Linked DNA regions of Homo sapiens: all the other regions are linked to region 1. Evidence: promoter capture Hi-C in 16 types of primary human blood cells and fetal thymus (Javierre and others, 2016). All regions are on one chromosome and are shown on one strand. Each heading gives the region's core, a stretch centred on a gene start or on the middle of the fragment in contact. The rest is flanking DNA. Distances are from core to core; before and after follow the strand shown.

Evidence for each region. Contacts are between HindIII fragments. The CHiCAGO score rates a contact against its expected background, and 5 or more counts as called.
Region 2: a contact is called between a fragment that was not itself captured here and the fragment with the promoter of DARS2 in region 1, in 1 of 17 cell types (naive CD4 T cells). The highest score is 5.2, in naive CD4 T cells.
Region 3: a contact is called between a fragment that was not itself captured here and the fragment with the promoter of DARS2 in region 1, in 1 of 17 cell types (naive B cells). The highest score is 5.4, in naive B cells.
Region 4: a contact is called between a fragment that was not itself captured here and the fragment with the promoter of DARS2 in region 1, in 1 of 17 cell types (naive CD8 T cells). The highest score is 5.1, in naive CD8 T cells.
Region 5: a contact is called between a fragment that was not itself captured here and the fragment with the promoter of DARS2 in region 1, in 8 of 17 cell types (fetal thymus, naive CD8 T cells, naive CD4 T cells and 5 more). The highest score is 10.1, in fetal thymus.
Region 6: a contact is called between a fragment that was not itself captured here and the fragment with the promoter of DARS2 in region 1, in 3 of 17 cell types (total CD4 T cells, naive CD8 T cells and total CD8 T cells). The highest score is 6.5, in total CD4 T cells.
Region 7: the fragment with the promoter of DNM3 here is called in contact with the fragment with the promoter of DARS2 in region 1 in 4 of 17 cell types (non-activated CD4 T cells, activated CD4 T cells, fetal thymus and 1 more); the score reaches 8.6 in non-activated CD4 T cells.

Annotation. Positions count from the first base shown.
Region 1 is chr1:173,823,266-173,826,114 of GRCh38, forward strand. DARS2 (aspartyl-tRNA synthetase 2, mitochondrial) reads left to right here and starts at 1,408. Exons shown (of 17, transcript NM_018122.5): 1 at 1,408-2,091. The coding sequence starts at 1,965. CENPL (centromere protein L) reads right to left here and starts at 1,618. Exons shown (of 6, transcript NM_001387287.1): 1 at 947-1,618; 2 at 661-754. RefSeq lists enhancers at 895-1,134, 1,112-1,630, 1,365-1,924, 1,631-2,148, 2,790-2,849. The HindIII fragment of the contact is 2,471 bases long and covers 1,305-2,849 here.
Region 2 is chr1:172,603,649-172,606,881 of GRCh38, forward strand. All of the region lies in intron 22 of SUCO (SUN domain containing ossification factor), which reads left to right. Among named protein-coding and RNA genes, the nearest start is that of FASLG, 54 kb to the right of the region's middle. The HindIII fragment of the contact is 629 bases long and covers 1,617-2,245 here.
Region 3 is chr1:172,586,821-172,589,743 of GRCh38, forward strand. SUCO (SUN domain containing ossification factor) reads left to right here. Exons shown (of 24, transcript NM_014283.5): 18 at 1,940-2,923. Among named protein-coding and RNA genes, the nearest start is that of SUCO, 55 kb to the left of the region's middle. The HindIII fragment of the contact is 470 bases long and covers 1,111-1,580 here.
Region 4 is chr1:172,629,379-172,632,479 of GRCh38, forward strand. No RefSeq gene overlaps it. Among named protein-coding and RNA genes, the nearest start is that of FASLG, 28 kb to the right of the region's middle. The HindIII fragment of the contact is 195 bases long and covers 1,465-1,659 here.
Region 5 is chr1:172,528,175-172,531,274 of GRCh38, forward strand. No RefSeq gene overlaps it. Among named protein-coding and RNA genes, the nearest start is that of SUCO, 3.4 kb to the right of the region's middle. The HindIII fragment of the contact is 1,005 bases long and covers 862-1,866 here.
Region 6 is chr1:172,568,831-172,571,724 of GRCh38, forward strand. It overlaps SUCO (SUN domain containing ossification factor), which reads left to right. Exons shown (of 24, transcript NM_014283.5): 7 at 189-312; 8 at 1,217-1,341; 9 at 1,833-1,900. Among named protein-coding and RNA genes, the nearest start is that of SUCO, 37 kb to the left of the region's middle. RefSeq lists an enhancer at 1,957-2,894. The HindIII fragment of the contact is 1,000 bases long and covers 957-1,956 here.
Region 7 is chr1:171,840,088-171,842,954 of GRCh38, forward strand. DNM3 (dynamin 3) reads left to right here and starts at 1,411. Exons shown (of 21, transcript NM_015569.5): 1 at 1,411-1,730. The coding sequence starts at 1,570. RefSeq lists a silencer at 1,226-1,455 and an enhancer at 1,656-1,835. The HindIII fragment of the contact is 4,190 bases long and covers 1-2,100 here.

The sequences.
Region 1 (2,849 bases), core at 158-2,657:
ACTGTATTTGATCTTATTATCTGATCCTATCCAGGTTCATTTTCTACTACTTCAGTTCTTCCCCAAGATCCATCGACATTAGCCTTTCCAAAATCCAACATTCTGCATACACTTCCTCTAAGGTTTTGTATACAACATTGGGGGGTGGGGGGATGGGAGTGAAGAAAGTTCCAGTAGACAATTCTTTAAGAGGTTAAATGACAGCCCTATACCCAAACATGCACCCCCTACTCTAGACAGATGATCACTCTACTGTTCTCCCTGCCTTTTTATTCACCTTATCGCCAATTAAAAACACTTCTCTACTCCCGTTTGTCTCAGTAAATCTTATCCATTTTCCATGTGCCATCTCCTCAGAAGTTTTCCTGAGCTTGGCAGGGCTAGTTCTCTTGACAATTCCACTTGCAGTTGTGGTTCACAGCACACAAGTAAAGCTTTGTTGTTTCTCTTGTGATTAGTCCGTGAAGGGGCTCTGACTTGATCACTTTTCTACATTGCCACCAATACCTAAATCCAACCGCCCCAATGCCAATACTTAGCCAGTGTTAAGCACGTAGTGTTTAAACACACCTCAACACGCAAGTATTGTAAGATAATGACCACACAACAGGGCAAATACAAAGTTAAAGCAGGTCCGGGACCAATACAAAGCATCTTTACCAATAAAATGCCGTGATGACGCTGTCACCCATTCCGGATTCACGAATCATTCTTCAAAAGTCCGGCTCCAAAACTATGTGGAGACTGAAATCCCCTGAAGAAAAAAAAAAAAAACCGCCAAAATGACAGCTAAGACAGAGGCCAGACTAACCCCTGGCCCTCCCAAATTCCCTCTCGCTCCACAAGTGGGTTCACAAGAGACACAAACGCACCCAGGAAGACCTCCGCTCCCTCAGACGCGGGGCGGGCCCTGCGACTTCACTCTGGGAGGGACATTTCCGCTCACCCAGCTCTGCGACCCTCGCTCCTGCGGAGTCAGCTTCTGCTCGCGGAGGGGGAAGGGCAAAAGGACAGTGCGTCCCAACCCGTCCCTCTCCAGCTGAGCCTGTCAGAGACCAGCCCAGCTCTGAAATCAAGCCGTTGAGAAAAGGGAATTCGGCCCTCCGCCGCCTCTTCAGTTTAAAATCGTTTCCCGACTCGCTCTGCGGCCCCACGCAGGAAGCCTCCTTGGCGCCTCGCCGATTCCGTATCAGTGAAGCAACTAAAATTGCCATTTTAACTGAGGGCAAGGCCGAGCCACTTAACCACTATCGTCAACCTTTCCAATCGTGCTCGGTTGCTCCTCAGTTTTCCTACCGGTGCGAAGCTTTCTCTCAAATTTCCGCCCGTAGTAGGCATGGCGGCGGCACCTCACCACTGATTCGTTGAATTCCTTCCCGGTAATCTTGGGCACTAGCGGGCGGAGTTGAAGGGCGCTTGGACCCCAGCGGCGATCTGTGTTTGGGTTCGCGCTCTGGGAGAATTTTGGCTTTGCTCGCCTTCCTCTTTCAGAAGACTCGAAATCGGCCAGCAGGTCTGCGAGATTTGAAACGCGACTGTTACTCCTTGTTTTCCGGTTCTGGCCGCGGGAGCCTCTCGAGAAGCGTGGAAAGAGGAGAAGGGCGTATACCTTGTGACCGCCTCTGGTTGTCTTGGGCTCGCGCCTGGCGCCGCTACGTGGAGTCGCTCTCTCGTCGTCACTTTTGGCTGCCGACTTGTTGAGTAGAAGTGCAGACTGATGCTTTAAGACTCAGGGAGAGGTCTTTCCCTTATCTCCACCCCAGCAAGCACCCCAGAGACCTTGGAGATTTGTCTTGTTTCTAGACACGTGTACTCCAATGTTGTGCGGAGGAGGCCTTAAATATTCGAGAAGAGAGTGGGAACTCCTGGAATTTTAAGGGATTTCTGTGTATTTCCAAAACTGACTTTTAACTACCGGCAGCGTGGGATTTCGTGATTGTTTTTCGCCATCGTGTGGCTCCAACATGTACTTCCCTTCTTGGTTAAGTCAGCTGTACAGGGGTTTATCCAGACCCATCAGAAGGACCACCCAACCGATCTGGGGTTCTCTCTACAGAAGTCTGTTGCAGAGTTCACAGAGGAGAATTCCAGGTGAAAATAGCGAAGAGATCTATCCTATGAACAGTACTTCAGCCTGTTATCTACGGCCGGAGAGCTTTTATTCCATTTTTCATTTTTTCCCCCATTATTATTATTATTATTATTATTATTATTATTATTTGAGACGGAGTCTCGCTCTGCTGCCCAGGCTAGAGTGAAGTGGCGCGATCTCCGCTCACTGCAAGCTCCGCCTCCCGGGTTCACGCCATTCTCCTGCCTCAGCCTCCCGAGTAGCTGGGACTACAGGCGCCCGCGACCACGCCCGGCTAATTTTTCTGTATTTTTGGTAGAGCCGGGGTTTCACTGTGTTAGCCAGGATGGTCTCGATCTCCTGACCTCGTGATCCACCCGCCTCCGCCTCCCATAGTGCTGGGATTACAGGCGTGAGCCACCGCGCCCGGCTTTTCCCCTGTTCTTAACTGGATAGCCTTATGTGTAGAAGCGAAATTCACTCTCATTATATTCATTATACGGCAGTTTTTTTTCCCTGAGTTTTTAGAAAGACCACAAAAAGGTAACCACGTAATATATAGAATACTCTGCTTTTGGTTGATGCCTTAAAAAAATCCTTCTTCGGCCGGGCGCGGTGGCTCACGTCGTTAATCCCAGCACTTTGGGAGGTCGAGGAGGGCGGATCACGAGGTCAGGAGATCGAGACCATCCTGGCTAACACGGTGAAACCCCGTCTCTACTAAAAATAAAAAAAAAATTAGCCGGGCGTGGTGGCGGGCGCCTGTAGTCCCCGCTGC
Region 2 (3,233 bases), core at 681-3,180, 1.2 Mb before region 1:
ATAATTATGTGTAAAACGTAATGAATTTTCACAAACAATACAGCTGTGCAAATAACACCTAAATTAAGAAGTAGAACATGAGCACCTCAAAAACTTCCTTGTGCTCTTTTAGTCACTGCCCATCCTTTCCCAGAGTAGCCAGTATTTTGATGTGTAACCATTGTGAGATTCACCATGCCATTGACTATAGGCATTTGTTTATTTTCGTTCCTTATAGTATTCCATTATATAGGTATACTGTACATTATTCATTTACATTTAGATTATTTTCATTTTGAGGTTGTTACATACTTTTGGTAAACACCTGTGCATTTCTGTTGGGTATACACTGGAAATGGGATTGGTGAATCATAGGGTATGTGTGTGTTCAGCTTTAGTAAATACTGTCATACAATTTTCCACACTGTTTTATGAATTTGCCCTTCTATCAGCTGCGTATGAGAGTTACAGTTACTTCATATTCTAAACATTCCTTATTTGAGGTATACCCATGCAATTAGGAAATACGTTAGATTTTTGCTTCTCAGCATTTCTAGTCTTAAGTGAAATCGTGACTATCTTACTATTTCTCTTCTCTTTATCCAATTTTTTAGGGCCAAACAGAGTAGCTTTTTGCACCTGATAATAGAATTACTTCTATTTTAAACAACAGTGTCATCTTGGTGTATCTTTACCAGTAAAGAAAGTTGAGTAGAGTAGGTAGGAGACTGACTTTAGTCCTGATTCTACCAATAGTTAATTCATTTATTTCTTCTGTTGTTTGATAAGTTCTTGTTGTTATGGCATTTATCATAGTATGCTTTGATTTTACCTATTTTTACTTGCCTTATTTTCACTTCTAAGCTCTGTGGGAGAGACCATGTCTTTTTCTTATTGTGATAAAAAGCACATAAAATTTATCATTTTAACAGTTTTTAAGTGCACAGTTCATTAGTAGTAAGTATAGTTACATTGTTGTGAAACAGATCTTCCGAATGTTTTCGTCTTGCAAACCTGAACTCTGTGTCCATTAACCAATTCCCCTTTTCTCCCTCTCTCAGTCCCTGGCAACCACTATTCTATTTTCTGTTTCTATGAATTCAACTACTTCAGATACCCCATATAAGTGGATTCATACAGTATTTGTCTTTCTGTGATTGGCTTATTTCACTCAACATAATGTCCTCAAGGTTCATCTACATTATAGCATGTGACAGAATTTTTTCCTATTAAAGGGTGAAATAATATTCCATCCATTTTATTTATGTACCTCATTTCCTTTATCCATTCATCTGTAAGTGGACATTTGGATTGCTTCCCCTCTTGGCTGTTGTTTGAGTAGTGCTGTTCAGGGGTATACAGATATCTCTTTGCTCATTTTTTAGTTGGATTGTTTGAGTTTTTTGTTTTTAAGTTCAGGGAATTCTTTATAACCTCCGTTATGGATTATAACCCCCATTAGATAATATGATTTGCAAATATTTTCTTTCATCCTTTAGGTTGCTTTTTCACTGTTTTGATTGTGTCCTTGGATGTACAGTTTTTAAGTTCAACGAAGTCCCATTTGTCTATTGTGTTTTTGTTGCCTGTACTTTTGGGTCATATCCAAGAAATCATTATCAAGTTCAAGGTCATGAAGCTTTTCCCCTGTTTTCTTCCAAGACTTTTATAGATTTATGTCTTTAATCTATTTTGTGTTGATTTTTGTATATAGTATAAGATAAGGGTCCAGTTTCATTCTTTGGAATGTGAATATTCAGTTTTTCCAGCACCATTTGTTGAAGAGACTGTCCTTTTCCCATTGAGTGGTCTTTGCACCCTTCTTAAAAATGAGTTGACCACGTACATGAGGGCTTATCTCTGTGTTCTTTATTTTGTGCCATTGGTGTATTTGTCTGTGTTTATGCCAGTACTCTACCACTTTGATTACTATACCTTTGTAATGTGTTTTGAAATCTGGAAGTGTGAGTTATCTAACTTCATTCTTTTTAAAATTATTTTCCTTATTTGAGGTCACTTGAGATTTTATGTGAATTTTAGGGTGAACTTTCTATATAAGCAGTGTCGTTTTACTAGTTCACTTGCAGATTATTTTGGATTTTCAGTGAATACAGGTACGTATACTGAGAACAAAGACAGTTTTGTTTTTTCCTTTGCAGTCCTTATAGCTTTTATTTCCTTTGCTTTCTTAACTGTGTTAGCTTGCATTTTCAGCAATGTTAAATAAAAGTGATTGACAGGCATCTTTGTCTTGTTCCAAAGGGAAAGCTTACAGTGTTTTATTGCTAAGATTGTATTTGTCATAGATGTTTTGTGGATTTTTTATTCTGTATTTTGTCATTATGTGTTACCTATTGTCATAGGTATTCTATAAATTTTTTTATATTATATTTTATTTCCATTTTTAATGTTACAAACATGAATTATATTAGATTTTCTAATGTTAAACTTATATTGCATTTTTAATACCAGTTGCTCATGATATACGTGTGTGAATTTTGTATTGTATATATTATTTCTACATAATTTTGTTAGATAATTATTTAGAAATTTTGCATCTATATGAATAAGATTGGCATGTAATATTTTCTCATGTTGGATTTTGGTATGTAAGGTTTATAAAAATTAGATGGGCAGGGGTATCCCTTTTAATTTTTTTTTTTTTTCCCCTTCCATGCTTTCATTAAGATTTTTTATTGGGGAGGAAGTAAATATTCCCTTTTACTGCCATTATGTTGGAAGTTGTGTACTGGTTCTGTTCTTTTACTAGTTACCCTAGAAGTCAGAAGTATTAATGTTTGCCAAAGTCTCAAGTTCATCAATACTTGTATCTTCTCCTTAACAATACATAGATCTTAAAACTCTTATTTGTCCCAAGCCTTATTTATGTTACTGTTCTTGTATATTTTAATTCTATTCTTTCTGCTTAATTTTAACTCAACAAGGTATTTCTTTTTACACTTAATGTTCATTTAAATTTACCCCACGTTTACTAATGTTTTTATTCTTCAGAGCTTTCATTTGTCATTAGTTAAAACTGAAATATTCTCCTCTTCTTTTTCTTTATCATTTTGAGATTCGTGAGGCTCTTTGGAGCTCTGGATTTGTAGGTTTCTTTTACTTGTTATTGAGAAATTCTCAACCATTATTTTTTCCTCCCAGATATTCCCTGTGCCCCAGTCTCTTTTAGATTCTCATATTTAATTAAACATATTACTTCTCCGTATATCTTCCCTGTCTTGTAAACATTCCAC
Region 3 (2,923 bases), core at 96-2,595, 1.2 Mb before region 1:
GTGAGAAAATTATATTATCCTGTGTTAATCCTGAAAGTTACTGGAGATATTTATTGGGTAATTAGAAAATATAGCGTATGTGTTATTGATTCTGAAAAGGACCTAAGAAATCTATTGGGGATAGAGACATTCTTGGTGTTTCTAATTATGTGGAGCTGTGATTGCTGTTCCTGATTTTGTAACTAGGTTTCTTCAGTTAACAACACGCTATGTCGTATTTTTCAAAACTAAATAAAACTGATTTGGTTTTTTATATATATATGTACACACTTTCATACACATATGTGCACAAGTAGGAATATTTGTTGAAAGCTGTAGTCACAGGCTAACGTAGCAGTTTTTATTTTTCCATATTAGTTTTTTAATAGATATTTTTGCATAATTTCTTATTCAGTATTTCTTCATGTTTGTCTTAAATTCTTTTTAATGCTTTTGAAGTAATCTTTTGAAGCAAATATGTGAAAATGAAGGAATCCATGATAGGATGTCACTGTTAAAGTTACGGAAAGCCAACTTATTTTCTTTTCCTAGGTTTTAGTAGGTTTTGCCATGTGAATTTGAGAAAAAACTTTTAAAGTATATTTCTGATTACAGTGTGTATGATGGGATATAACATCTGTATTCAGTATTTTTTACCAAATTCAATATAATTTTTCTCTCTCCCCTTCTTCAGACATTACTTGTTTTTACTGTCATAAATTATTTGGTAGAAAAGCAATATATTACCTGAATATGTAAGAAATATTATTAGAGACTAAATATATATGGCTATAAATATCTTTTTATTTACCGAAGTGTAGTCTAATTATGTTTTAATTTGGTCCATTTACTGTTTTACTACCAAAATGAAAGTCTACATCATAGATACTATTTTATTACTTTCTTCTGTCTTTGCTATTGTGACATTAGTCTTTATTTGAAGACATTTCCTGGCATGCTTAGTAATTTTTCAGAATGGGAAAATGTGTGTTTGAGCATAATTATTTTTGGTATTGAAATTACCATATTTTTTCATATTGGACTTTTTATGTATAAGGCTACACCCAGTAATTAACTATCTTTATCTTGGAAGGAATCACAAGCATTATAATTTATAACACTGTCCCCATAAGCTTCATCCCCCCACTCTCCTGTATGCCACATACATACTCCACAGCCTCAAAATGGGATAGAATATTAATAGTGGCACTAGTAGTTTAATAGCAGCACTGTTAGCATATCATAAGCCAGAATTGTTATTAAAGTGGTTAGGTATTTGGCTTAGAAGATTAGCCTAGATGATAGCAAAATTATTTTAGGAAGGGAGATATGTTTCTTGTCCTTAAAGTAGATAATCCTATGTGTGTAGGTGTGTGTGTGCGTTGTGTGTTTAATGCTGTATTGGAGTTCCTCAAATCATTCTTAGAAAAATTATGTTTGAGACCAACCTAGCTGCCTTTTGAAAATAGGGTATTCAAGTACAAAGTGCACTCATAAATATTAAGAATCCTAGATTCTAGTTTTAGCTCTGGACCTTATTTAAGCTAGTTTATTAAGCTAGCTCTTAGTTGGCTTAATTTCTGATGTGTAAGGGATAGTGAAGCTTGTAAAGATTCAGTGAATATTTATGAGAGGAAAGGAACACTACATTCAGTGAATGGAAGTATTCACTTAGAAACAATTCTTAAACAGATTAAAAGAAAGCAAGTTTGATATGGTAAATATGGTGGTTTGAGTCATCTGGCTAGTCACTTGATAAATAGTATTTCTCTTATCATTTCTGAGCAGTATTTGTTTTTATAATAAAAGTGTTTTGTAGGTGAAACATTTATCCAAAAACAAATTTCTTCTATATTTCCAACCTTTTATCTTCTGTATGGATACATTTATTTTTCTTTAACATATTTCAACTTTAGACTTCTAAGTAAGTGATTTATAATTATGATATATGTATTTCTAGGTATGTAACCACTGAAGTACACACACATGACATGGAGCCGTCAACACCAGATACTCCAAAAGAGAGTCCCATTGTACAGTTAGTTCAAGAGGAGGAAGAGGAGGCAAGTCCATCTACAGTGACCCTTCTGGGCAGCGGTGAACAGGAAGATGAATCATCACCCTGGTTTGAGTCAGAGACACAAATATTTTGCAGTGAACTGACCACAATTTGTTGTATTTCTAGTTTTTCAGAATACATATATAAATGGTGTTCAGTTAGAGTTGCTCTTTATCGGCAGCGCAGCCGAACTGCTTTGAGTAAAGGAAAAGATTATCTTGTGTTAGCTCAACCACCCTTACTACTTCCTGCGGAATCAGTAGATGTTTCAGTATTGCAACCTCTGAGTGGAGAATTGGAAAATACGAATATAGAAAGGGAAGCTGAAACTGTTGTTCTGGGTGATTTAAGTAGTAGTATGCACCAGGATGACTTGGTGAATCACACTGTAGATGCAGTTGAACTTGAACCAAGCCATTCTCAAACTCTTTCTCAGTCTCTTCTTTTAGATATTACCCCAGAAATCAATCCCTTGCCTAAAATAGAAGTATCTGAGTCTGTTGAATATGAGGCAGGACATATACCATCACCAGTGATTCCCCAAGAGAGTTCTGTTGAGATCGATAATGAAACAGAACAAAAGTCTGAGAGCTTTAGTTCTATAGAGAAACCATCTATTACCTATGAAACAAATAAAGTTAATGAGTTAATGGATAATATTATAAAAGAAGATGTGAACTCCATGCAAATTTTCACAAAGCTGTCTGAAACAATAGTGCCACCAATAAATACAGCCACTGTACCCGACAATGAAGATGGGGAAGCCAAAATGAATATAGCTGACACAGCAAAGCAAACTTTGATTTCTGTTGTGGATTCTTCTTCATTACCTGAAGTAAAAGAAGAAGAACAGTCTCCAGAAGATGCCCTTTTGAGAGGGTTACA
Region 4 (3,101 bases), core at 312-2,811, 1.2 Mb before region 1:
TGCACCAACCTAATAGCTGCATTTGCAGTTTTGAAGCTTCACCATGACCAAATGCTGGCGCTTCAGGCAGAGCTGTTTTAGGTGTTATGTGACATGCATAAAACACAGTCCCTAGTCTCAGGAACTTATAATCTAGTGAGGAGAGTGGACCAAGAAATGCAAACAAATACCCACTACTATAATATCATGTTTAAATGCTCTAGCAGTGACATGATTAAAACTGTAGGAACAAGGAGGGTATAATTCCACCAGGGGAGGGCAGATTTCACAGAGGAACTGCCTCTTGAGGTATGTCTTGAAAAACAAGCAGGAGTTTACCAGGTGACAGAAACAGTGGTGAGGAGCATTGTCAGGGATGGGTAGGAGTTAGGAGTAGGCAACAGGAGGACATTTTGTCCAGAAAGAGTCTGTAGAAGCTCAGAGGCATAAAGTGCAGTGAGCTTCATAGCGACAATTGGTCACTGACCAAATGGGTTTCAGTTTCTTTCCTAAGGTGAAAGTCATCAGATTTTTATATCTCCTCTTGGCTTTCTCTCAGCATACGAAGATGTAATTTCTGAGCCACCATCTTGAGTTTTTCTGCTCATGGGGTTTGGTATGTATGAGGCTTCCAATTACTCTCTAGCCTTCCCTGTGTCCATGTTTGAGATGATGGCTTATGATTGAGATGATGGCTAGCTGGGGCGAGGGGAGCAGTCTTTGGCTGTGGTCGTGGATCCTTATGGGATCCTTATTGGTTGTATTCTGGGCTAATCGACTGAATTAACTTCTGTTCCTAAAATCTATGGGTACCCTAGGAATTTTAAATTTCTTTTGGGTAAGGAGTGGAGAGAAGTGAGTCACTTCCTCTCTTGCTTCATTGCTTTTCTCCATAGAGCACATAGAAAAAATCCAAAGTAAATATGAGAAGATCTTAGTTTTAAATCGTATTTAATAATTGACAGAGAGGAAACTAAAGATACAAGTGACCAGGGAGCTTAAGTTCAAAAGTCTGAATCAAGGACAAGATTAATCCTGATAGGTATTTATCTCAGGACAATTTCCTTCTTCCATGGTAACTGTCTCTTACAGAAAAAAGATTTCAGACGAAAGGCATAGCCCACCCAGGGGAATTATTTCCCTTGAGTAACATGAGACTGAGGACACATGTTGAATCCATTTCTCATTATTGAAAAGGTTTCCCAGATGATGGTGCCAGGTCTGTGTCTCAGCGTGGGAGGGGAGTATAGTATAGAATTTGAACCTAACTGCCCAGGGATCTGAGGAACCTCTCAGGGCGTAGTCGCATCCAAAGCTGGTATTGCTCACCGCGCAACAGCCAGTTAGTCAAGAGACAAGGTGTTGGGGCAAGGAAAGAGAGTTTATTTTTTTAGGAGACTCTATTTACTTATTATTTTGGAAAGCCAGCAAGCCGAGAAGATGGACTAATGTCCTAAAGAACCATCTTAAAAGGCATACATCTCAAGCTTCTTTTTATGTTGGGGAAGGGGGAACAAGGGGACGTTAAAGTCAGGAGGTGACTCGTGACCACAGACACACGAGCATCAGCTGGAGTCCAAGGAGGTTGCAAAAGTTATTTGTCTTTGGTCAGGTCACAGTGCTCCTGTAAATCTTGGCATAACATTGTTGCTTGTGCATACACCCTCCTTATCTCCTTTAAGCTTAGTTTTCAAAAGGGACTATTTTCATCCTTGCTTTGAACTATAAACTAAATTCCTGCCATAGTTAGCTTGGCCTACATGCAGGGATGAGCAAAGGCAGTCAGCTTGTGAGGTTAGAAACAAGATGGAGTCAGTTATGTTAGATTTCTCTTACTGTTACAAGGGCCTCTTTGAGAATCAGCAGTCTAGAATGGAAGTTCTTAATCTGGGCTTAGCAGAGAGTATCTGAGAAACATGAAATTCTTTGCAAACATTTCCATTTGTTCTTATTTTTGTAGAAGTTTTTTCCAGAAGTCTTATCTTTCTTGGAATCTTTCATCAATTTAATGAAAGGCTCTGTCACTCCCAAACAGGCTTAAAACCCCTAGTTTAATACAATGTGTTTCAAGATCTTGCTTCCTTTTTTGGTAAGGGAATGGAGGGTGAGAGAAAAAAATTGATTAAGCCTCCCTTTGGTGTTGCATCACATATCCCTAAAGAGAGACCTGCAGGACACAGCAAAAATCACACCAGACTTTTTTTTTTTTTTTTCAATCTGGCTGTTTTCAAAATTCTGGCAATAAGTCACAAAGTATTCAATGAGGAAGAAATGGGAAGCCAACATCCTCAGAGGCCCACATTTCTATACTAGCTCAGATACAAACAGAACTTGTCCAGGAGCGGGAAGTTTTATGCAGGAACACAGAAGAGTGGCACTGATACAGACAGGAGGCAATACTAGGGAAATACTAGGCAGAAAAGGGTGGGGTCCCTGGCAAAGCCCCACCCTCAAGCCTGGACCTGCTGCCCAAAGTGAGAACATCTATTCCTCGTTTCCCCCCTGAATGCTGCCTTTTCTAAAACCAACCTGGCCCACCTTGACCCCCATCCTGTACTCATAAAAAACCCAGGCTCCACCGGCAGAATGGCAGAGTGGCAGAGTGGCAGAGAAGGAGAGAAGAGAAGCAGCCAAACGTCGGAGAGAAGCAGCTTGACTTCAGAGGAACGGCTTGACAGTGGGACCTTGGAGAAAAGTTTGGCTGGGGACGGCCGAACTCCAGGAGAAGACTACCTTCCCACTCCATCCCCTTTCCAGTTCCCCATCCCACTGAGAGGCACTTTTATTGGCAATAAATTCCTCCACATTTACGATCTTCGATTCATTCATGTGACCTGATTCCTCCTGGATTCCGGACAAAGATCTGGGTGCAGATGCAAGAGTCGTCACACTGACCCTCCACTGAGCTATCTAACATTTAAGCCGTCCACAGACAGTAAAACTAAAAGAGTACGGTGTTTTAATGGAGGAAGATAAATAAGAGAGAAGGACACAGGAAAAGTGACATAATTCACTGATAACAGACAACAGGAAGAATAATCATGTCCCATATCAGCCTGGGAAGGTAAGAAAGGCATCATTACAAGGAGTAGAATAACAGCTCTCAAGCTGGTTCAGTGGGC
Region 5 (3,100 bases), core at 114-2,613, 1.3 Mb before region 1:
ACACCTTATTAGATCACAAATTTGCTTTGTAATATTTTAATAACTGTATTTCCCTACAATTAGTTTCCTTGGTAATCTATGTGTTTTATTTTATACCTTTATAAACATTCTGAAAAGGGTTTTACCAGACTACCAAAAGGGTTCAGTTCAGAAGATTAAGACTCCCTGCTAGAACGCTAAACTTTTCCTGGAGCAAATTTCTGTCTCAGCATCTTTAATACAAAAAAGGCTCAATAAATATTTACTGAACACTTTATTTCTCCAGGTTACTTAGGGTAACTAGAACCTAGGAAAATCTATTCAGACATAAGTCAAATAATGTTATGCTAAAAAGCTAATTTGGTAATTTATAGAGAAAGAAATAGTTGGCTAGGTGCTCTAGACTAGTCAACTGCATAAAACGTTCTCATCCTAAGGGCTTGCTACTTCTAGGAATTTAAATTATAAGGCAAATTGTAATTTAAGGTGATTAGACAAAGAAATAAGTAAAAAGTAAAAAATTATTTCTTGGGCCTCTGTAATAAAAAAAGTCACTGTGTGATATATATCAATAAAACACATGACCTCTCTGCAATAAGGAATTTATTCACTGCTTGGGGAGACAAATGACTATTAAATAAAAACAGTGTCATGAGGGCAGGCACAGGTGTTTCAGGTCATAATAAACAGTGTGGTCTGGTGAGAAGGTTGAGTTATGAAAGAAAACAGTGGGAAATAAAGCTTGAACTACATCAACTGGGTTTGATTATGGAAAGCTTTGAATGCCAGGCCAAGGAGGCAGGACTTTATTTCACAAATACGTCAGACCTGTAGGAGATTTTTGCATCAAAGAAAGGACATGATGAAGATAATGTTTTAGGAAGCTTCATCTGAGAGCGTTATACAGGAGGTACTAAAGGACGCATCAGTTACAATCCCCAACATGCTGCTTCAGTTGCTACTTTCTCTCCCTATTTTGAATCTTGTACTTGTAAATTCTTGCTAGATACTTCCACCAGAACCTCAATACTGTGCTTCCAAAACCATACTAGTCTCTTAAATTGTAAATCTGCAACTCCTGACTTTCCTACTCATATAATGGCACATACGTTCTTAGAAATTGGACCATCTTTGATGTCTCCTTCTCTGTCACCCACATGTAATCATTCCCTTCCTCTAGTTGATTCCATTATGAGCCTATTCAATTCATGTATCTTCAAAATAAACATATGTTAACGCAGTGATAGAAGACTGAATTTGGGATCACAAAGTAGAATTTTTAAAAAGGGAAATCTTACCTTTTGTTATTTGCAGTAAAAACAGAACCGTGCATGCCAACATTGCACTCTGTGATCTTCCCGCCCTCAGATCTTCCCGCCCTCAAGAGACTGAGTTCTCAGACTGTACTAATAAAGCAATCTATGTCTTCTTCTGATTTCTACCTTTACCTCCTGAAGTGGCCAAATTACCAGTGCTCTGTTAAGGTAGATTAGGCTAAGTAGTTAAGGCTCTTTTCAGGTAGGTAGTAACTAAATAAAGAAGGTATATGCTATTCTACACACATATTTATATATATAAAGAAGATGATCGGGGGGACAGTTTTAAAAGTTCTGTTTATACTTTTTATGCGGTTAAAATGTTAAGTGCTGATTGCCACATTCACCATTTTTCCATCTTATTTAGTCTCTTTTATTGTCCATTTGTCTGTTTTCCATTCCCCAACCTTTCTTTGACTGATTTCCAGGAAACTTCTGTTTTAACTGACTTTTACTCTGGAAGCATCTAAATGTCATTGGTCTCTAAGATCCTTTGGAGACATATAGGATCTCAGCATTTTGTAATATTGAAAGGAGCAGGTAATTTTTCAACTAAATCAAAATACATAAAAGCTTGCTCATGAAATACCACCATCTTAGACAACACAGTTCTCTTGGGTGTCTTAAATATGATTTGTATATGAGATAAAGAACAAACGAGATAGCCAGAAGGGGTTGGTTCCTTTTCTAAGGTCTGCTTGTTCTCTTTTACCATAAGCAAACAGAGTATCTGATCTTTATCAAGGCAGGGACTTGAGCTGCCCAGAGTTTCTGGTTTAGTCACCCTTTTAGGAATGGGAGAACTCATGTTCATTGTGCAGTTTAGGCCCTAGTGACTTGCTGAATAATCCAAGGATCTGCAGGGCAAACGAGTTATCCTGTGTGTGGTCAGTGCTTTATAGATTTTATTGAATTGGGAGATTCTGTTACAGCAGGGTTTCTCAACCTTGGCACTTTTGACTTTTTGGCCAAATAATTTTTGTTGTGGAGGGCTTTCTTGTGCACCGTAGGATGTGAAACAGCATCCCTGGCCTCTACTCACTAGATGCCAGTAGTACTTCTCCAATGTGACAAGCAAAAAATGTGTTCACACAATGCCAATCTCACCCTGGGGGGAAGTCTGCCCCAGGTTGAGAATTACTGTATTATAGTTAAGGGGTGGTTGATAGTGGTTACTTAGCCTAAGCCTTAAAAGATTATATATATAATTAAATATTATATATGAAAGATTATACATTATACATGCTCTTTTTCTATATTCTTTCTTGCCATTTTTGGCATATGTTATACTTTTAAGTATGGTGACATTCATCTATACTAGTTTTATTTTATATAACTATTACTCACTTTCTTATACTTGTCTATTGAGTTGTAAGAAAATTTTCTCTGTTCTTTTTCTCATTATATTTAACAGATATGTGGAAAAATGTCTACCAGTTCTTTAAAGGTCAGCTCTATGGAACTTCTATTTATTTCATCTGAAGTCTTAGAATAGGAAAGAATCAACACAAATATAGAAAGTCACGTGAAGAAGCTAATTTATGGGGAAAATGAGTTCAATTTTGTGCAGGTAAAATTGGAAGTGATAGAATAATATGTCCAGCAACTACTTGAAAAGAGGATGGGATATAGGTTTAGGAGTCAACAGTATAGTTGAAAATTAAAATTGCTCAAGAGAAAAATGGAAAAAGCTCGGAGTAGTGAAGGATTAAACCTTAACATGAAACCATGGAAATGAAGCTGCAAAAAGAGAAAAGAACATTTATAGATTGAAATAGTAAAAGCTAATAATTGGATGATAATTA
Region 6 (2,894 bases), core at 207-2,706, 1.3 Mb before region 1:
TTATCTCAAGAGAAATTCAACTTTTAAGTAAACCAAAACCTTTCTTTTTACGTTTTTTATTTTTTCAAAATATAATCATTCATTATAAATTGGAACTTTAATTTGACAGAAACATTTGTATTTATTTCTAAAATTTATTTGTATTATTTGAAAGTTGAAGTCTTCTTACTTTTTGGTGTTTCTTTCAGAGCTCTGATTATACAAAACCAGGAGACATTGACCCTACATCAGTAGCAAGTCCCAAAGATCCAGAAGATATACCAACATTTGATGAATGGAAGAAGAAAGTTATGGAAGTAGAAAAAGAAAAAAGTAAGGAAGTATTTGAGTTCTTTAAATTTTTTTTTTAAGTATATGGTGTAGTTTAATATGCTTTCTTTTTTTGATTGGTAAAACAAAATAAAATTTACTTTTGAAAACTTTTTAAAGGTGAAACTTAACCAAGTTGCTGTTGATCCATCCATCCATCATGTACCTGTATATAATTACATACAGTTTTAGTTTTAATTAAAATCCATTCTTGTAAATTATTAAGTGAGCATAAAATAAGGCATAGCAGTGATTTTCATCACAATACGAGGAAAATTGAGGCATGGAAACTATTTTAAAATTCATATGGAACTCAAAAAGAACTTGCATAAAATCCTTGGGTTTAAAATATTCTTTAACTTACCAAAAGGTGTTTTACATATGATGTTTCAAGAACATACCTAAAGAAAAGCTTGCTTATGTTATGAGGCAGAGGAGGGTGACTAAAATTATAATTTATTCCCTGTGTGATGGGTTATTAGGTGCAGCACACCACCATGGCACATGTTTACCTATGTAACAAACCTGCACATCTTGCGTGTGTACCCCAGAGCTTAAAAAAAAAACAATAAAATAATGTAAGAAATACATCCTTAATAGATGTTTATAATAGATATAAATACAGAAAGCTTTGATTCTCATGGACAAGCTTCATTTTGTGAGTTATGTTACTTAGACATAAGTAATGTAGAATTTTGTAGTTAATTTGTTTTGGGGGGATATTTTAAGCTATTGAGGTGGAGCACTTTGATTTTTTTATGAATTTTTAAAATATTCTCTCAAGTGTTAAAACCTATTCTTTTCTAGAAGACAGCTTATTGCTTTGGAGATCAGTGTTGCTAGAGGTATTTTCAGTCATAATCATCAAATATATATATAAATATTTATAATAACGGTTTGTCTGCAGGTCAGTCGATGCATGCATCTTCTAATGGAGGTTCACATGCCACCAAAAAGGTCCAGAAAAATCGAAATAATTATGCCTCAGTAGAATGTGGTGCCAAAATTCTAGCAGCTAATCCAGAAGCCAAGGTAGGTGTTTAAATATAAAATTTTGTATATATAGGAAATTAACGACTTTTTAAAATACAGGTTATTTGTTTACTGGGAACTATATTTTAATGTGAGATATTTTCCTTATTCACTAATAAAAGCAGAATATACTTTTCAAAACATTATCTTGTATGAATTCTTACTTATATTGGCTGATGTATTTTGCCCTGCATTTTTTAACTTTTAAAACCCGTATGAAATTTTAAAAAGGAAATAACTAAAATATTATTTTTTTCTTTAAAGTAACAGGCATTGAATTTTAAATGTATCATTGTAACACTAATTTAATGCTGTTGCCGTGAATGGTGAATCTTAGCCACTTTTATGCTTTTTTCCCAAGTGAGTGTTTTAAAGTCTTAGGTGTACTTAAGATCTAAAAATACAGAAGTCCCAGAAAACTTTAAAGTTAAAATAAATACTTTCTTCATTATTCCTTAAGTAATTTGTTTCCTTTCCTCTTTTTAAAATAGAGCACATCTGCTATTCTTATAGAAAATATGGATCTTTACATGTTGAATCCTTGCAGCACTAAAATTTGGTGAGTTATACACAATTTTAAAAAGTACATTCTACATATATATGCATATTATGTTAAGCTTTTACATTAGGGTTACATTGACATATAATAATTTAATAAGCTTTTATGATTGATTAGTGCTGATACTATGCAAAACTGAGGACAAAATGCCTTCCTTTCCTTTTGAGGAGGTCACAAAAAGCAAAAAATGGCAGATCTGGTTAAACAATTATGAAATGGTATAAAAAGTACTGTTGAAAGGGTGTTATTGAAAGAGTGATGATGCGTAACTGCAAGAGGAGATGAGAGAAGGCTTCCTGGAAGAGGTAATTCCTGAGCTGAATCTTGAAGGATTAATAGGAAGTGGCAGATGAATGAGGCAGAGGTATTCAGGAACTGTAAGAATAAGGGGGGTACTGCTGCCATCTCGGCACACTGCAGCCTCCCTGCCTGATTCTCCTGCCTCAGCCTGCGGAGTGCCTGCGATTGCAGGCGCGCGCCACCACGCCTGACTGGTTTTCGTATTTTTTTGGTGGAGACGGGGTTTCGCTGTGTTGGCCGGGCTGGTCTCCAGCTCCTAACTGCGAGTGATCCGCCAGCCTCGGCCTCCCGAGGTGCCGGGATTGCAGACGGAGTCTGGTTCACTCAGTGCTCAATGGTGCCCAGGCTGGAGTGCAGTGGCCTGATCTCGGCTCGCTACAACCTCCACCTCCCAGCCGCCTGCCTTGGCCTCCCAAAGTGCCAAGATTGCAGCCTGTGCCCGGCCGCCACCCCGTCTGGGAAGTGAGGAGAGTCTCTGCCTGGCCGCCCATCGTCTGGGACGTGAGGAGCCCCTCTGCCTGGCTGCCCAGTCTGGAAAGTGAGGAGCGTCTCTGCCCGGCCGCCATCCCATCTAGGAAGTGAGGAGCGCCTCTTCCCTGCCGCCATCCCATCTATGAAGTGAGGAGCTTCTCTGCCCGGCCGCCCATCGTCTGAGATGTGGGGAGCGCCTCTGCCCCGCCGCCCCGTCTGGGAT
Region 7 (2,867 bases), core at 161-2,660, 2.0 Mb before region 1:
CCAGAAAGTTTCCTCATGCCTCCTACAGTCAATCTCCACTCCTCAAAGACAACCACAGTTCCGATTTCTATTACCATAGAATAGCTTTGCTGGTTGTAGAACTTCACATACATGAAATCAAACCAATATGGTCTTTGGCCTTTTTCATTCTACATAATGTATCTGAGATTGTTGCTATATCAAAAGTCTTTTTTGTGGCAGAGATTATTTCACTATATATATATACCACGTTTGTTTATTCATTCACCTGTTGATAGACATTTGGGTTGTTTTCAGGTTTTTTGACATTATGAACATTTTAATATGTCTTTTTAGAGTTAGAAGGAACTGTACATTAAATGCTGAGATTACAAAAGATGACTTCAGTTTTGAATAAATTGAGTCTGTAGTACTTGTAGGACACTCAGGTAGTATTCTGGGCTCCTCTTGGAGTACAGTCTAAGTTGCAGAAGAGAGACAGGGTCTAGCAATGTAAATTTCTGTAGTCGCCAGCCTTGATTCAGAGTTAAAGCTATGGGAAAGTCCTCAGGCAGAGGACAAACATTAGACAAGAAAATGCCCATATATGAAACCCTGCGAAGCATCAGTATTTGAGGAGCAGACTAAAAAGGAACCGTCTGTGGAGGCTAAGAGAAGCATGGCCATTTATCTTTGTGTCCCGATCATCAGGCACAGGACCCCACACACAGTCACTTCTCAATGTGCTAAATTTCACAGAATGCGTCCAGGGTACCTGGTTCTGGATAGATCCGGTAGAAGGAGATAGACCGGGAGGGCAAATGGCATGAGGAGTCTCACAGGCCAGAGTGATTAAAGGGGTGTATCGGGGCGGTAAACCCTACAGACTCTACCTGTGCTTATGCGGGGCTGGGGAGGACGAGTCATTACAGATGAAGAATTAAGTAAGGTCAGACCACTCAGGGCCTTAGATGGATGTCACATTGAAGAATTTAGACTCCAACAGGCCTGCCACCCTGGGAGGAGTCATCGCGGATTCTGGAGAAGGGCGTGACAGAGGAGATTTCCTTTCGGGAAGTGTAGTCTGGCAGCGGTGCCCCGGTGGTGGCGGCGGCGGTGCTGCTGTTGCTGGTGATCGTGTGGTGGTGTTAGCGGCGATAGTGCTTTCCACTGGGCTTTGGCTTGGTAGCCGCTGAAAGAGAACAACGCTGCCGCTGCTGCTGATTTCATGCCATTTCCTGACCCGGCGCTGTAACTTGGCCTCTGAGCCTTGGCCACAGAACGCAGAGGCCGTGGCATCTGGCCGCAGCTGGGCTGCAGTGCGTGCGCGCCTGGCCTGGTGGTCCGATGGGAAGCCCGGGGCGGGGCAGCCGCGGGGCGGGGGCGGGGCGTCGCGGAGATAGGCCACGCCCCTGCCCGCCCGCGCAGGCGCGCTGCGGGTCGTTAGCTGTCAGAGCCAAGCGGCGGGCTGGCGGCGGGCTCCGACGTCTGCGCCAGGACCTGGCTGGCTGAGCCCGGCGCAGCAGCAGCAGCCAGGGCAGCGCGGCCCCTACTCCCTGTCAGGTCGTAGAGGCGAGCAGGGACCAGCTGGTCGCCGGCCCCTCGGGCAAGATGGGGAACCGGGAGATGGAGGAGCTGATCCCGCTGGTGAACCGTCTGCAGGACGCGTTTTCGGCGCTGGGACAGAGCTGCCTGCTGGAGCTGCCGCAGATCGCCGTGGTGGGCGGCCAGAGCGCCGGCAAGAGCTCGGTGCTCGAGAACTTCGTGGGCAGGTAAGCGCGCAGGGCGCGGAGTAAGGATGCGGCAGTGGGGCGACCCCGCTGCGGGCCGTTGGAACGTGGACGGGCAGCGGGAGCCAGAGGGTGGATGGACCAGGCGCTGCGGTGGAATGGGGGGCAGAGTGGAATGGGGGGCAGAGTGGCGGTGTCCGTGGGGCGGGCGGGGTCCTCCAGCTCTGGGCATCCTCCGTCCCCTGCCACCCCCCGCCTGGTGGCCCTCCTGCCTGCCTTTCATCGTGCGATACAAAGCCATTTCCTCCCTGTCCTCCAGTCGGGGAGTCGGGGGAGGGGTCCGCCCCGGGCTCGACCCCCACCCCCTCGGTGCGCGCCAGCCCCGGGCAGCCTCCCTGCGTAGCGCGCCGAAAGCTTCCCAGTGCCCCTCTCCTGTTTTCCCAGCTCAACACCCCCCTCCTTTTCCTGTCGCCCTCCGTGAGGCTCCCTGTGAGGCTGTGGGGCTTTATCCCCCGAGCCCCCTCCCTTAGGTGGAGATGCTTTCCTTCTCGCCAGGGTTCTCGTTCCTCTCAGCTGTCTACTGTTGCCTGCCTCTAGCTGGGGAGGCGGGGTGCGAGGAGAAAGACGTCGTTTGTTGTGGTGAAGCTTTATCCAGAGACGCTTCCCCACCATTCTCCTCCCGGAGAGTCGAAGAATAAAAGGTGGTGTGTTTGCGTGTGCACCTATTCACAGCTTCAGGCAATTGTGAGAGAGCCCGAGGCACAGACTTGGCAGGGGGTGGACGTGGACTTATGTTGTCCAGGTGCCATGTCATTCCTGCATCATCTCGGAACTGACCAGCATCTTTCTCGCACTCTCTCTGCGCCCCCTCCCCCAGCATCATCTTCCGTTCTCTAAGCTCCTATTTGTCTTGCTAGCCTTCAAGACAACATTCTGAATCTAAATTGTAGCTGTGGTTTTCCTCATGACTCTTAATACAGAAACAGCTAAGGAATTAATTTTCGAATTAGGAATCAGCATTTCTTCCACTGAGCAATTCATGAGGGATTAAGTTACCTTAATGGCCTTGCCTGAAGAGTGCAGACATTTGCTAAGAAAAGCCCATTTAAAAGCATTATGAAAACTGAAATCTGTTTCCTAGTAATAGAAAACCAGGTAGAAATGTACAGTATCCAAGAA